3 separate regions of the Homo sapiens genome follow, and regions 1 and 3 are each linked to region 2. Evidence: promoter capture Hi-C in 16 types of primary human blood cells and fetal thymus (Javierre and others, 2016). All regions are on one chromosome and are shown on one strand. Each heading gives the region's core, a stretch centred on a gene start or on the middle of the fragment in contact. The rest is flanking DNA. Distances are from core to core; before and after follow the strand shown.

Region 1 (4,049 bases), core at 585-3,084, 960 kb before region 2:
TGTGTCTTTGTATTTGAAACTTTCCCAATGCCCCTGGAGTCATTTTCTCACTTTGTGCTCCCTTAGCAGCTCCCAAGTAATTGTAGTGTTTATTATATTGTGTTTGTTTTCATATGTATTTCTTTCATTATCTGAAAGTTTCTTGAGGGAAGTGACAGTGTCTACTACTGCCTGGTAAAGTACTTGATTGTTAGTTGAGAATACTCAGCAGATAAATTGTTTGTCAGCATACAGCTTCTCCAAAAAGTTTATAAAAGAAAAGCCCTTTATCCTGATTATTTTATTAGTGAAATATAGACTACACAATGTTTGAGTTCTATATGTCTTATTTCACAACATGGAACACAATTTAGACACAATTCTAATGATGGCATGACAAGACTGGAGACCAGGAGAACTGTTAGGATGCTGTTACGATAATCGAGGGTGAATACCTGAACTAAGGAGAAGTAGCATTAGGAATAGAGAAGACTGAATAGGAGATAACTTAGAAGATAAGTATGAACGGGGTACGTTAATTATCTCTTTTCTGAGCTTTGGGGACACCAAAATGAATACAGTGAAATCCTTGCCCTCCAAGAGCTTAAGGGACAATGAAGACAGACCTGCAAAGGGTTAATTACAGCAAAGTGGTAAGTTTTATAATAAAAAAAATTGTGCTAAAAGCATAAGGGAAAAAGCCCTTCTTTCTGCTTGAGGGAGTTTAGAAAGCTTCATGGTGGTAGTGACATTTAAGTGGAGTATAAAAGAGTCCATCAAATATGAAGAGCAGTCTATTCAGAGGAAACACTATATACAGAGGCATAGAAGCAAGAGACCCTTTGGGAGTTAAGTAGTTGGATGTGAGGAGGATGATGCTGGAAAGATAGTCTAGAGTTACATAGTAAGAGGTAGAGCAGGCCATGCCAAATAATTTGTCTTTTCATTGTACAGAATAGTCATTTGAAACTTTTTCCCAACGTTTTATTATGATGTTCAAACATACAGAAAAGTTAAAAGAATTTTACAGTGAGCATCCATATACCTACCCACCACCTAGAGTCTGCTGTTAACATCTTAGTATTCTTATCACATATCTATTCCTCGATCCATTCATCTGTCCATCTTTCTTTTTTGATATATTTTAAAGTAAATTTCAGACACCAGAAAACTTGACCCTAAATGCTAATGGAAAGTTTTTAGGCAAAGGTGTGACATAATCTGAATTGTTTGAGGAAGAGGAGTGTTAACTTTTGTATCTAAGCAGTTGTACATAGCATTGCTTGAGATGAAATTTGGATCTTTACCAGGGATCTTTAAACTCCCAGTTCAGTTTTTCCTCAACATTGTATTCTGAAATTTTTCATACAGAGAGAAGTATGAAGACTCATGCAGTAAACATTCATGTACCCACCACTTAGTTCCTACAATTACACAGTTCCATTTATAAATGTCTTGTGTATCTTACAGAGAGATTATTTAGCTAATTTAGGGGGAACGTTACCCATTGGGAACCATGAGAATACAAAAATTTCAGACCTTTTGAGTGTGTACAACCTACAAATATCCATACATGTATACAGAGCTAATACTTACCAGCACTTGGGTATTTTCATGTACAGGATAGTGCATATATATGTCTGATTTGGGAATTTATGAAGTGGGAGTGTGTGTTTATATTGAAAAGCCAGGTGCTTTTATTTTGTGATGCTTTGCTTTGCCTAAAACTTTGTTGCTTTATCTCAGTTCACACTCCTAAGATTGGCATCAGGATTGAATTTTTAAAAATGAGGCCGGGTGTGGTGGCTAATGCCTGTAATCCCAGCACTTTGGGAGGTCGAGGTGGGTGGATCACTTGAGGTCAGGAGTTTGAGACCAGCCCGGCCAATATGGTGAAACCCCGTGTCTATTAAAAATACCCAAATTAGCTGGGTGTGGTGGCGCATGCCTGTAATCCCAGCTACTTGGGAGGCTGAGGCAGAAGAATCACTTGAGCCCAGGAGGCGGAGGTTGCAGTGAGCCAAGATTGCGCCGCTGCACTCCAGCCTGGGCGACAGAGCAAGACTCCATCTCAGAAATAAATAAATAAAAATGATTGTATTATAGGCAGTGAACATTATTAATGAGCCTTCTAAAAATATTTTAGAACAAACTTTCATAGAAATAAATGTCTAATATTCACTTTGGCATCTTTCATCTTGTGTGTTGACTTAATTCTGCATTCTACATAGTTATCTTCAGTTTCTTAAGTGTATTCAGCTGAAATCGAGCCATCTTCACTCAGCTCATTTGCTCTATCTAGATAGAAGTACATACTTACATTAAAAAGAAAATAAAATTAAGTCTTGAAATGTAGAGTAAGAAAGTCCCCACTCATCCTCTTCAATTTTATGCCCTTCAAAGTAACAAGTATTGGTTCTCATGCACTTCAAAGTAACAAACTATTAAGTATTGGTGAGTATCTTTCTGTATCATTTTATTTGTGTTTGTCTTTTAAATGTAAATGGGCCCATATTTAACATTGTTACTTGTTCTTTTTAAATATCCTTCTTAGTAATATAGATCTACCCCATTTTTTCACTAGTTTACTGCCATTAATTACATCCCATCTGCCCACTCCCAACCACCCACAAGTATGTATGAATTACTTTCATGTTGGGAAAGCCATCATGCCTTGTTTTGCCTCTTCCAGTCAAAATGGAAATTCTTGCCACTTGAATAGAGAAATTATATAGTTGTCTGTCTTCTTTCTATAAGAACTGCTTATTCATCACTCTGGTTAACTGGATTCCTTTATTCCTTAACAACTGCCTCTAAGTTATTAATATTTCTTAGAGTTCCCAGTTCTTGTAGCCCAAAGTACAAAGGATTTCTCTGCTCAAAATCTGCTCACTGTTCTTATGGGTTAATAAACTCTTAAATGCAAATACCCCTTGTGGTGGGAGAAACTTATAACTTAAACTTTACTGTGAGTTACTTAAGCTTGACACTTGACTTCAGTACTTTGAAATGGATTATTACTGAAATAGAATTGTGATTTCCAAAAAGACAAGTGAAGAATAATAGACCTGGGATCAAATAACTGGATTATTGGGAGAAGTTAGCCCAGGGAAGAGTAGGAAGACAGAAAAAAAGAATGCTTAGGATAATTTTTTTTTCTGCCAAGGAGGCTTGGTGGCAACATCTTTCCACAGATTGCAGAATCATTTTGAGTAACTCAGGTTGCTGATACCTTCAAAATGGAAGAACCTTAATCACTAGGGATTATATCCCTTATATAAGACATTTTTTTTTGTTTTTTTTTTAAGAGATGGGGATCTCACTATGTTGCCTAGGCTGGAGTGTGGTGGCTATTCACAGGTGAGATCATAGCACACTATAGCTTCAAACCCCTGGGCTCAAGTGACCCTCCTGCTGTAGTAGCTGAGACTATAGGCACACACCATCCCACCTGGTGAAGACAGATTTTTTCAACAAAAATTCAGAAAGGTTTTGGAACAGTTATATAAACAAATTTCATCACATGCAACATTTTGACTGAAAAAATTTTGCTTAACAAGCATGGCCTTTGAATTGTTTTGGGAAAAAAAAACCTCTAGGGATTCAGGGAATCAGCTCAGACGTTAAACTGTCATTTTTGTAGCCTGAGATGTGCCTTAATTCATTGAGGAAGTCTCTCTAGCAGTATTGGTGCTATATAGTGTATTGATATATTGCTATTCAGTTAAATGGATAACTTTCGAAATAATTGAATAAAATCCCTTTCCTCCCTTAGTCTGAGTTTGGAGTATTTGGGTATTTGACCTAATTTTTCCAGTCATTCTTGGAAGTTAGCTGGGTCTTTTGGCATCTGTTAGGCTTTCTGTTATGTTCAATAACTCAATTTCTAAGTGTTCCTTTTTTTTTTTTTTTTTTTAGCAAATTTGTAAATCAGGACTTGTTTGGTATATTAATGTGATTGAGGCTCACAGTGTAACCTTAGTAGTGATTTTAATCTTGGCATTTAAAAGTCACTGCCAAGAAAATCTCTATGAGGTACAGGTTGCATTTCCTTATATTTAGATTTTAAA
Region 2 (4,042 bases), core at 1,044-3,543:
GTTTCAGACAAAGCTTCAAAAAAAAAAAAAAATACTGCTACTCCCCAAACATTTCTCTCCTCATGTTCTGCTACCTGTCTCCCTCAGGGGTTTCTTCTCCTCTGGCTATCTCCATTATGAGAAGTGCTCTGAGTTCTCCTGTGCCTGAAATCATCTCATGATGTACTCACTCATCTTGGTGACTCTAAGAAGATCTCTCTTTTGACTTGTGTCTTTTATTTCAAATTCCTCAGATTTCATGTTTGCTGAACTTCTTTCTGGGCCTTCTTCTTCCTTCCCTCCTTTTTTAGTTTGGGGTAGAAAGACCAGCAAAACTGTGTTGGGTGAGTTTATGTGTTTATTTGCATCTCTCCATCCAGAGGTGGGAATGCTCACAAGCAGGTAAGGCATTAAAAGGCAGGAAGCCAGAGACTAAGTGGAGAGAAAGGACTAACTGAGCAATTGATAACTTTGAAATGATCAACTCTAAATAAATATATTTGACCATGCAGAGACAAAGAGAGCTCATAAAAAGAACCTCCACATCAGGCCCTGGGCTATTTCCTTTCTCCAGAGTTTGAGACTGGAAAGGTAGGAACTGGAATAACCTCCCCAAATTTCATATGAGCTTCTCTCTCCTTCCCTCTCCCCAAGATGCTGCTCCTTGAGCTCCCCATCTATCCTATGATTTTAAAAGTGAGGTACCAATGAGAGATCTTCATCTCAGTTCTTATTCTGGCTAGACAGGTGCCATCATCTTCAGTGATAAGCTGGTTGGCTACGAGTTCTATCTCACACTCTCAGCTGGTTAGAAACTACCCCTATCAAGATCCCTGGCAAGACATTGTTAAGCCCTAAACCCCAGCCCTGTTATTGTTGCCCATTAGTCTCTCCACTCCATTGTATAAGCTGGGAATAAAATGTCACCACAGCTGACCACTTCTATTGAGTGAATCTGGCCCATATGGGAAGAAGATGGGCTGATTGCTTTTCCAATCACTTCAGAGAAGTTGAGAGGCAGCATGGTATATCAAGAATGTTTGTCTCAACAGAATCACTTTCAATGCTTGTTCAGAATCACTTTCAATGCTTGTTCAAAATGCAGACTATGTCACCCCCTCCTTGATTCACTGAATTCGAATTTATGGGAATTCATATTGTTAAAAATCCTCAATTTATTCTAATGGGAACTAATGATTGAGGAATACTGTTTTAGTGGAAAAGTCACAATTTTGGAATCAGATCAGAGACAGAGTCCTGAGGTCTGCCCCTTACAGGCTATATGCACATAAAAAGATCACTTAAAACCTCTGAGTTTTGGTTTCATTTATAAAATGGAAATGATTAAGCATAAAATTCAAGTGAAACATCTGCACTATACCTAACACCAGAGTAGGTATCAATTCTCTCCCTTTCTACCAGAAAAGACCCTATTCTCTCATAAGTAATGGAAAAGACTTGAAACCACCTAAGATTTAGAACATCTCTCCTTTCCCCTTTCTCTCCCCACAACCACTCCATGGGTGATTTTTCCTCACCCCTAGGCTTCATTCTATTTTCAGTTCCCCACCACAAAATGAAACCACTTGGCCAAGTGTTCTTTGCAAGAATGGATTTATAGTTTAAGTATTTCAGGTTCTTCTGGAAATTGTCATGCCTTGGCACATAGTAGGAACTCATAAATATTTACCAAATGGATGCATTCTTTTATTTCCAGCCTGAGAGGCCTCAATATTTGCATTTCAGTTTAACTTCATTACCCCATTTCCGTCGCATAACCCCTTAGATTTAGGCAAATCCAGGAGATCAACCTACCACATTAGCAAACCGGATCCATTTTTACTTGTATAGACAGGTCATAACAAAATCACTCTCTCCACTCCCAGAAACAGGCACTTCATCTCCTCAGGTTACCAACTCCCCTGGGGAAACCAACTAGCACTTAACCCTTAGGTCCTCAAATCTTGTCAATATGAAATAGGAATCCAGCCCTGATTCATCTTAGCCTCTGTGCAAACAACGGACTATGAAGAAATAAAAAAGCACCAGGCTGCCCTCGGGTAGAAAACGGCTTCTCTGAGCTTTGAGATGAAAGGACAGGAAACCTGAGAAAGGAAGGGGAGAAGGGGGGGCTGAGCAAGGGGAGAGCAAAGCAGTTTCTTATCCAGCTGTTTGAATTGCATTTGGCCCAAGTTGCATATTTACCTTCTGACCACGAAGGCTGACTGACTTGTTCCCTCTCTTCAGGCTCAGATCTCAGAAACAACTTCTCCTTACAGCTTGTTAGACAAGGATGGGAATACTAGCTGCCCTTTGCAGTGATGCCTGAAAACCTTGCTTTACCTTTGGGAGAAAGGGGCGGAGTCCAACCTAATGGGGATTAACTCCAAACACGCTGGAGGCTTCAAACCCAGCCTCAGACATACAGGCACTTGAAATAGAAAGTAGCTTAGTGGGCACAGAGTCCCCAAACCTCCAACCTCACAGCGGACAAAGCAGCTCTGTGTGTGTGTGTGTGTGTGTGCGCGCGCGCGCGCGCGCGCGCGTGTGTGTGTATGTGTGTCCGCGCGAGCGCGCGCGCATGCGCGCAGGCATGCCCGCGCTTGAACTGCGTTATCTTACTTCCTCACTTGCTGCCCAAAAGCCTGCTGAGGAACAGAGATTTTCTCTAATTTTCCTCCAATGCCCTAGATAATCTCTACCATGGTAGGTAGCAGACCCATGTGGCTAGAAGTGACTGAGAGAACACATGCCTAAATAGAATAAGACAGAACAACCTCTTCTCCCCAAACTGATTTCCATTGCCTGATGGGGAAGATGCTCCAGCAGAGCAATCTTTGGCTCCAAGATGTAATGAGCTTACATTTCAGAATTTGTGGAAATCATACATTGAAAGGAATAACTAATATATTTTTATAGTAATAATACAATCAAAAGTCAGTGTTTAATTTATCCCAGTGCACTAATAACTGCTACTCTGCTTGGGAAAAGAGCTGAGTGGTCTGGAGATGAATGGAGCTTTGCCTGATGTTCTACTCCAACCCGATGTCATATTTCCCACCTGTGAATGTCCCTGACACTTCATATTTGGGGAAACTTATTATCTTCTACCTAGTATCATTATTATTATTATTATTTTCGTACATGTCTCTTTTCCCCTCCTAGATGGCCTGTGAATGGGGAACTTTGCTGAACAAATCCAAATGATTTAGAAGGAAGAATGGTTACATTAACAGAGCACACTGGACTGATCCAAAGTATCCATGCTTCTCTGATGGCCCAGTTCCCTCACCAGAATGCTACAAAGGTGATTAGGCCTATTTTCTAGCATGTTGTGGCAATAATTCAAAATATGACCGTAAATTAACATATTAATTGTACCGTGATTATTTAATGAACTTACAAAGTTTCTCCTGCCTTCTGTGTATACCACCTGTGTCCTGCCTTTTATCAGTGATATGATCCTATATTCATGCATGTATTTGTCTATCTAGCAACTTTCCATCAGCAATTTTTACCGTTTTGTTCTACAACACAGTGATAAATCCATTCCCATCTGTAATCATGGCTTACTGAGGCCATCATGTTTCTGGGGGAAGCACAGATGACTCCTTAGGTGGAATGTTAGACTTTTGGCAGTGTAAGCCCCCCAACTAAGTTTTATAACCTCCCAGCTGTCATTCCCTTAAGAACCATTGCTTCAGACATAGGATTATGTAAAAAGAAATGTTAGGCCCTCCTTCATTAAATATAGGTTAATATTAACTGACACGTAGTAACTGTGTGAGATACGGCTGAAAATGTTGACATATAAAAAATAGATGATCCCCACTCTATGCACAGCAGTAAATATTGCCCTTTGCTTAGTGACTACACCTGTCATTTGGGGAACCTATCATTATTTGAAACTCTAAGAAGAATACCATTTTACTTTCCTCTTTTATCCTCTTTTCTCTATAGACACTTAAGTGTATAATAAATAATAATCTAATTTATTGGACAAAATTTTATTTCCTGTTCTTAACAGTTGAACGCTCTCTCAGAAAAAAATTGCTTGCATCTT
Region 3 (4,460 bases), core at 956-3,455, 980 kb before region 2:
ATTTCTTGGTCATTGTTTATTACTATTTTGGTCTTAATTCCTAGACTCATTTGTAATTAAACCCTTTTGATTAATTACATTTAAATTTAGTAATTCCCAGTTTTTATTTTTATTTCTATTTTTATTTATTTATTTTTTTTTTGAGACAAAGTCTCGCTCTGTCGCCCAGGCTGGAGTGCAGTGGCGCGGTCTCTGCTCACTGCAAGCTCCGCCTCTCGGGTTCACGCCATTCTTCTGCCTCAGCCTCCGGAGTAGCTGGGACTACAGGCGCCCACCACCATGCCCAGCTAATTTTTTTTGTATTTTTGGTAGAGACAGGGTTTCACCATGTTAGCCAGGATGGTCTCGATCTCCTGACCTCGTGATCCACCCGCCTCAGCCTCCCAAAGTGCTGGGATTACAGGCATGAGCCACCACTCCCGGCCAGTAATTCCCAGTTTTTATAATGTAACACAAATTCAATACTTTTTTTGTTTAAAGCATACTAGCCAATACATTTTTGAAACTAACCTTAATATTCTTATGCTATTAACTCAGTATCTGTAACCCATAATGTCATATAGTGTCTTTTCTAATAGATAATAAGGACTAAATGGAATTTTTTATTTGTAGTAATTATTTTAGAATATCCTATAATAGACTGGTGAAGAAATCCAGTAAGGCAATACAATATGGTGTTTACTCATGGTTAAGTGTGCTACTAAAGTACTTGGTTGCAGGACCCTGATAGTCACTGTTGGAATGATGTCTATGAGACGCATATAGTACATCTTTTTGAATGATCATTTCTCCTTTTGTGCAGCATTACATACTGGTCAATTCTCCACTGCCAGTGTGAAGTGAGGGGATAATACACTCCCCATATTTAGTAATGAAAAACATTCCTAAGTCCTTAGCCTAAATTAGTAGTTTTCTGGATCTCAGTTTTCCTGTTTGTGAATTAATAAAACTAACTTCTCGGGTGATTTCTAAGACATAAACCTAGTTGTGTGGCATGTTTTAAAAATTAAAAATGCTGTTGAAATAACACATTTTCTCTTGGTTAGTTTTTGTTTTGAGAAGTAGGACTAAGATCTATTTTTAGAATTCACAGAATATAGTCCTAAATGATACGGAAAGCAGATTTTTCATTGAATTTCATGTTTAAACTCATACTCAGTTTCTAATTGGGGTTATAGTTAGATAATTTAAGTTTATTTAGAAGTTTAATTGAATGAGTCTTTCCAGTGCTTCAAATGTTCTGGGTTTTTTCCCTCCTTCTGCTAATCCTGTCTCTAGACTGATCAGACACTGCAGGTATCTTAAGTCAAAAAACAACCTTCTGCTGGGCGCGGGGGCTCATGCCTGTAATCCCAGCACTTTGGGAGGCCAAGGCAGGTGGTTCAGCTGAGGTCGGGAGCTTGAGACCAGCCTGACCAGCATGGAGAAACCCCGTCTCTACTAAAAATACAAAACTAGCCCGGCTTGGTGGCACATGCCTGTAATCCCAGTCGCTCAGGAGGCTGAGGCAGGATAATTGCTTGAACCTGGGAGGCAGAGGTTGCAGTGAGCCAAGATTGCGCCATTGCACTCCAGTCTGGGCAACAAGAGCGAAACTCTGTTTAAAAAAAAAAAAAAAACAAACCCTCAGTGTTTGTGTGCCAGTGTGGTATATTTTAAAGCAAAGTAATATTTTCCTTTAAAAAAAAATCTGTATTGTCATGCTATCAGGTGGAAATGGGGAAGAGAAGAAAATGAAAGCAAGTGGTTCTTGATAATATTTTATTTTGCAATTCCGAAGAAGGATTACTTCTTTGGGAAATCCATTCTTTGTCTTGCCTTTATTTCTCCTTCCTAAAACTTGAGGAGGAGGTTGAACAGGGCTGCCAGGCCATGCTTTGTTTTAGAACCATTGTGTTCCCTTCCTTCATAAATCTTGCTTTGCTAATTCTGCTTGAATGTTCACCCTGAAAAGTTGATAGGCTCTAGTTCCAGGGTGCTGTTAAAATACATTTTTAAAACACATTACCATTATATTTTCAGTAATGAAAGACCCTAAAAAGAGGTTCTGTAGAGTTATTTCCCTTAATTTGCTTCATGTTATTTGGTACTAAAAATAATTGAAGTAAGTTATTTAGGGCTAATTTTTAAAATACTGGCTTTTCAGTAGGTTCTGTTACAAGTTGTTATATGTTAATACATGGGTTTGTTATCTTTAAAAATCTAGGTCTGTTTATGTGGTAATGTCAGATTTATTCATTTTTATGTGGGCCAGTCATCCCCACTTTTTGCCAAGATAATAGGCTAACACCCAAAAGCTATTTTTAATATTGATCACAAATTTGACCACTTAAAGGAAGGTGTTATCAATATTTTAATATTGATTACAAATTTTACCACCTAAAGTCTGTTATCCACTGTTGAATCACAGAGTAATTCCCTACATTTGGAAGAGTGCTTAGAGATTATGCAGCCCATCTACTTATTTTACAGATGAGGAAACTGAGACTTAAAGTGGTACAGCCAAGTTCATAACATTCTTTTCATGATACCATATTGCCTCTCAGAAACTAATAACTCATAGCATTTTGTCATACACATTTACAACTATACCTTGTATGTCACAGGTAATGTATGCTTTAAAAAAATAATTCCGGACATACCTCATTTAATTGGTTGAAACGTGAAGTGTTATTTTAGAATTAAAATCATTAGTATTTATATGTCACACTACAGTTTCCTTGTTTATCAGTGAAGAAATAAATATAGCAATTAAAAGGGCAAATTACGTATTCTAGCTAAATTTCAGTATAAAAAGTAGTCATTGCAAAATTAAAGCCCATCAGTTTCATGACAAGTAAACTATGTTATTTAAAGTTACTTTAATGTTTTTTCAACTTATTTTAATCTGTACCCAGAGATACAGTGCTTAAAACTTAAAATGTCTTTTTTAAGACATTTTCTTTCCATTATACTTAGATGTCAAAGGGAATAATTCCATTAGGGATGGGGAAACAGGATATGGACCCATATTAGAACTTTGATTTCCAGTAGAATTTCAGTGAAATTGCTCTGGTTCTTACCTTTTTTTTTTTTTTTTTTTTTGGACCAAAGAATGATTGCTTGCTGAATGTTTTGTCAGGTAGCAGCTAACAGCCATCCATATTTAAGCACGAACGTGCTAAACACTGAATATACAGTGTCTTTTGTATTATTCTAACAACCTTAGGTTTAAGTCACAAAAATTTCTAGAGCAGTGTTTCTCAAACTTTGAAACATTAATAGGTGATCTATGGAGGGAAGAAGGTGTTTGATAAAGGCTAGGTCAAAAATGTGAAGCATTTACTATAAGCATTCCTTAGGACCTTTAATGTTGCTAATGGGCACTGTGAATCTCAAGGATAGGATTATAATATGCAAAGTTTGCTGAAATTTTGGCCTTGAAATTCTCTTTTTAGGAATATGTTGTTCTAGAGCAGTGGTTTTCAAAGTGTATTCCCTGGACCAGCATCATCATCACCTGGGAACTTGTTAGAAATGCAAATTCTTGGGATTCATCCCAGACCTGCCTCAGAATCCCTTGGGCAAGAGGCAATCTTTTAACAAGCCCTCCACTTGAGAACCACTGTTCTGGAAGTTTTTCAGGACTAAAGTAGTTTGCTGTGGAGAAAGCCAATTGGGATTTCAAGTGCGATATTTCAAAGGACAGTATTAAATACCTTGAAGTGGCTTTTTATTATATGCAAGACAAAGTCTAGAATCGACCCACAGTTCTCTTTAAAATATCCTATTGTACTAATCTGCAGAATGGAACCTCTGCTTTACCACTTCTGGGCTTTTGTTCATGTTTTTTCTGCCTTGGTATGTAATTCCTCTTTATGGTAATTGTGCAAACATCAGGAGATTTTATATAGTTTTAGTTTCAGTACTGTTACTGATTGGATGTGAAAACTTAGGTAGGTCTTAAAACTATTTCAGACCTGTTTCTTCATCTGTAAAGTAAGAGATCCCTTGGAGCTGTAAAATTCCAATTACTTGTTTTCCCAGTTTATGATGCTATTGTTTCTTGCTCACTAATGATAAAATGTTTAAATTTGCTTTCTAAAATTAAGGTAATACATGTGAATAGTTAAAAATGTTAATTGATTATACAAGGCTTACAACAAGAAACAGCAGTTGTATGTCCTATTCCTCCGCATCTCTGTTCCTGCTTCTTATAGATGACCGTATTACTTTATGTTTTATAAATAATATGCTTAAACTGGTTTTGTTTTGTTTTTTAAATTTGAATATCATTGTAACCTTCCTACATGGAAGAGGAGACTTTTCAAAAATTAATGTTTTTAATTTACACGTCACAATTGTATATGCATTTATAGGGTACAATGTAATGTTTTGCTATTTGTGTACAATGTGGAATGATTATGTCAAGCTAATTAACATATTCACCTCACTTACCTATCATTTTTTATGGTGAGAAA

Evidence for each region. The method cuts DNA at HindIII sites, captures the fragments that hold promoters and counts their contacts. A CHiCAGO score of 5 or more calls a contact.
Region 1: a fragment that was not itself captured here is called in contact with the fragment with the promoter of LHFPL1 in region 2 in 4 of 17 cell types (naive CD4 T cells, non-activated CD4 T cells, naive CD8 T cells and 1 more); the score reaches 8.5 in naive CD4 T cells.
Region 3: a contact is called between a fragment that was not itself captured here and the fragment with the promoter of LHFPL1 in region 2, in 2 of 17 cell types (total CD8 T cells and total CD4 T cells). The highest score is 6.8, in total CD8 T cells.

Annotation. Positions count from the first base shown.
Region 1 is chrX:111,713,666-111,717,714 of GRCh38, forward strand. The region is part of intron 8 of ALG13 (ALG13 UDP-N-acetylglucosaminyltransferase subunit); the gene reads left to right. Among named protein-coding and RNA genes, the nearest start is that of ALG13, 35 kb to the left of the region's middle. The HindIII fragment of the contact is 2,250 bases long and covers 710-2,959 here.
Region 2 is chrX:112,677,645-112,681,686 of GRCh38, forward strand. LHFPL1 (LHFPL tetraspan subfamily member 1) reads right to left here and starts at 2,294. Exons shown (of 4, transcript NM_178175.4): 1 at 2,185-2,294. The HindIII fragment of the contact is 5,630 bases long and covers 12-4,042 here.
Region 3 is chrX:111,693,920-111,698,379 of GRCh38, forward strand. The region is part of intron 3 of ALG13 (ALG13 UDP-N-acetylglucosaminyltransferase subunit); the gene reads left to right. Among named protein-coding and RNA genes, the nearest start is that of ALG13, 15 kb to the left of the region's middle. The HindIII fragment of the contact is 4,705 bases long and covers 1-4,460 here.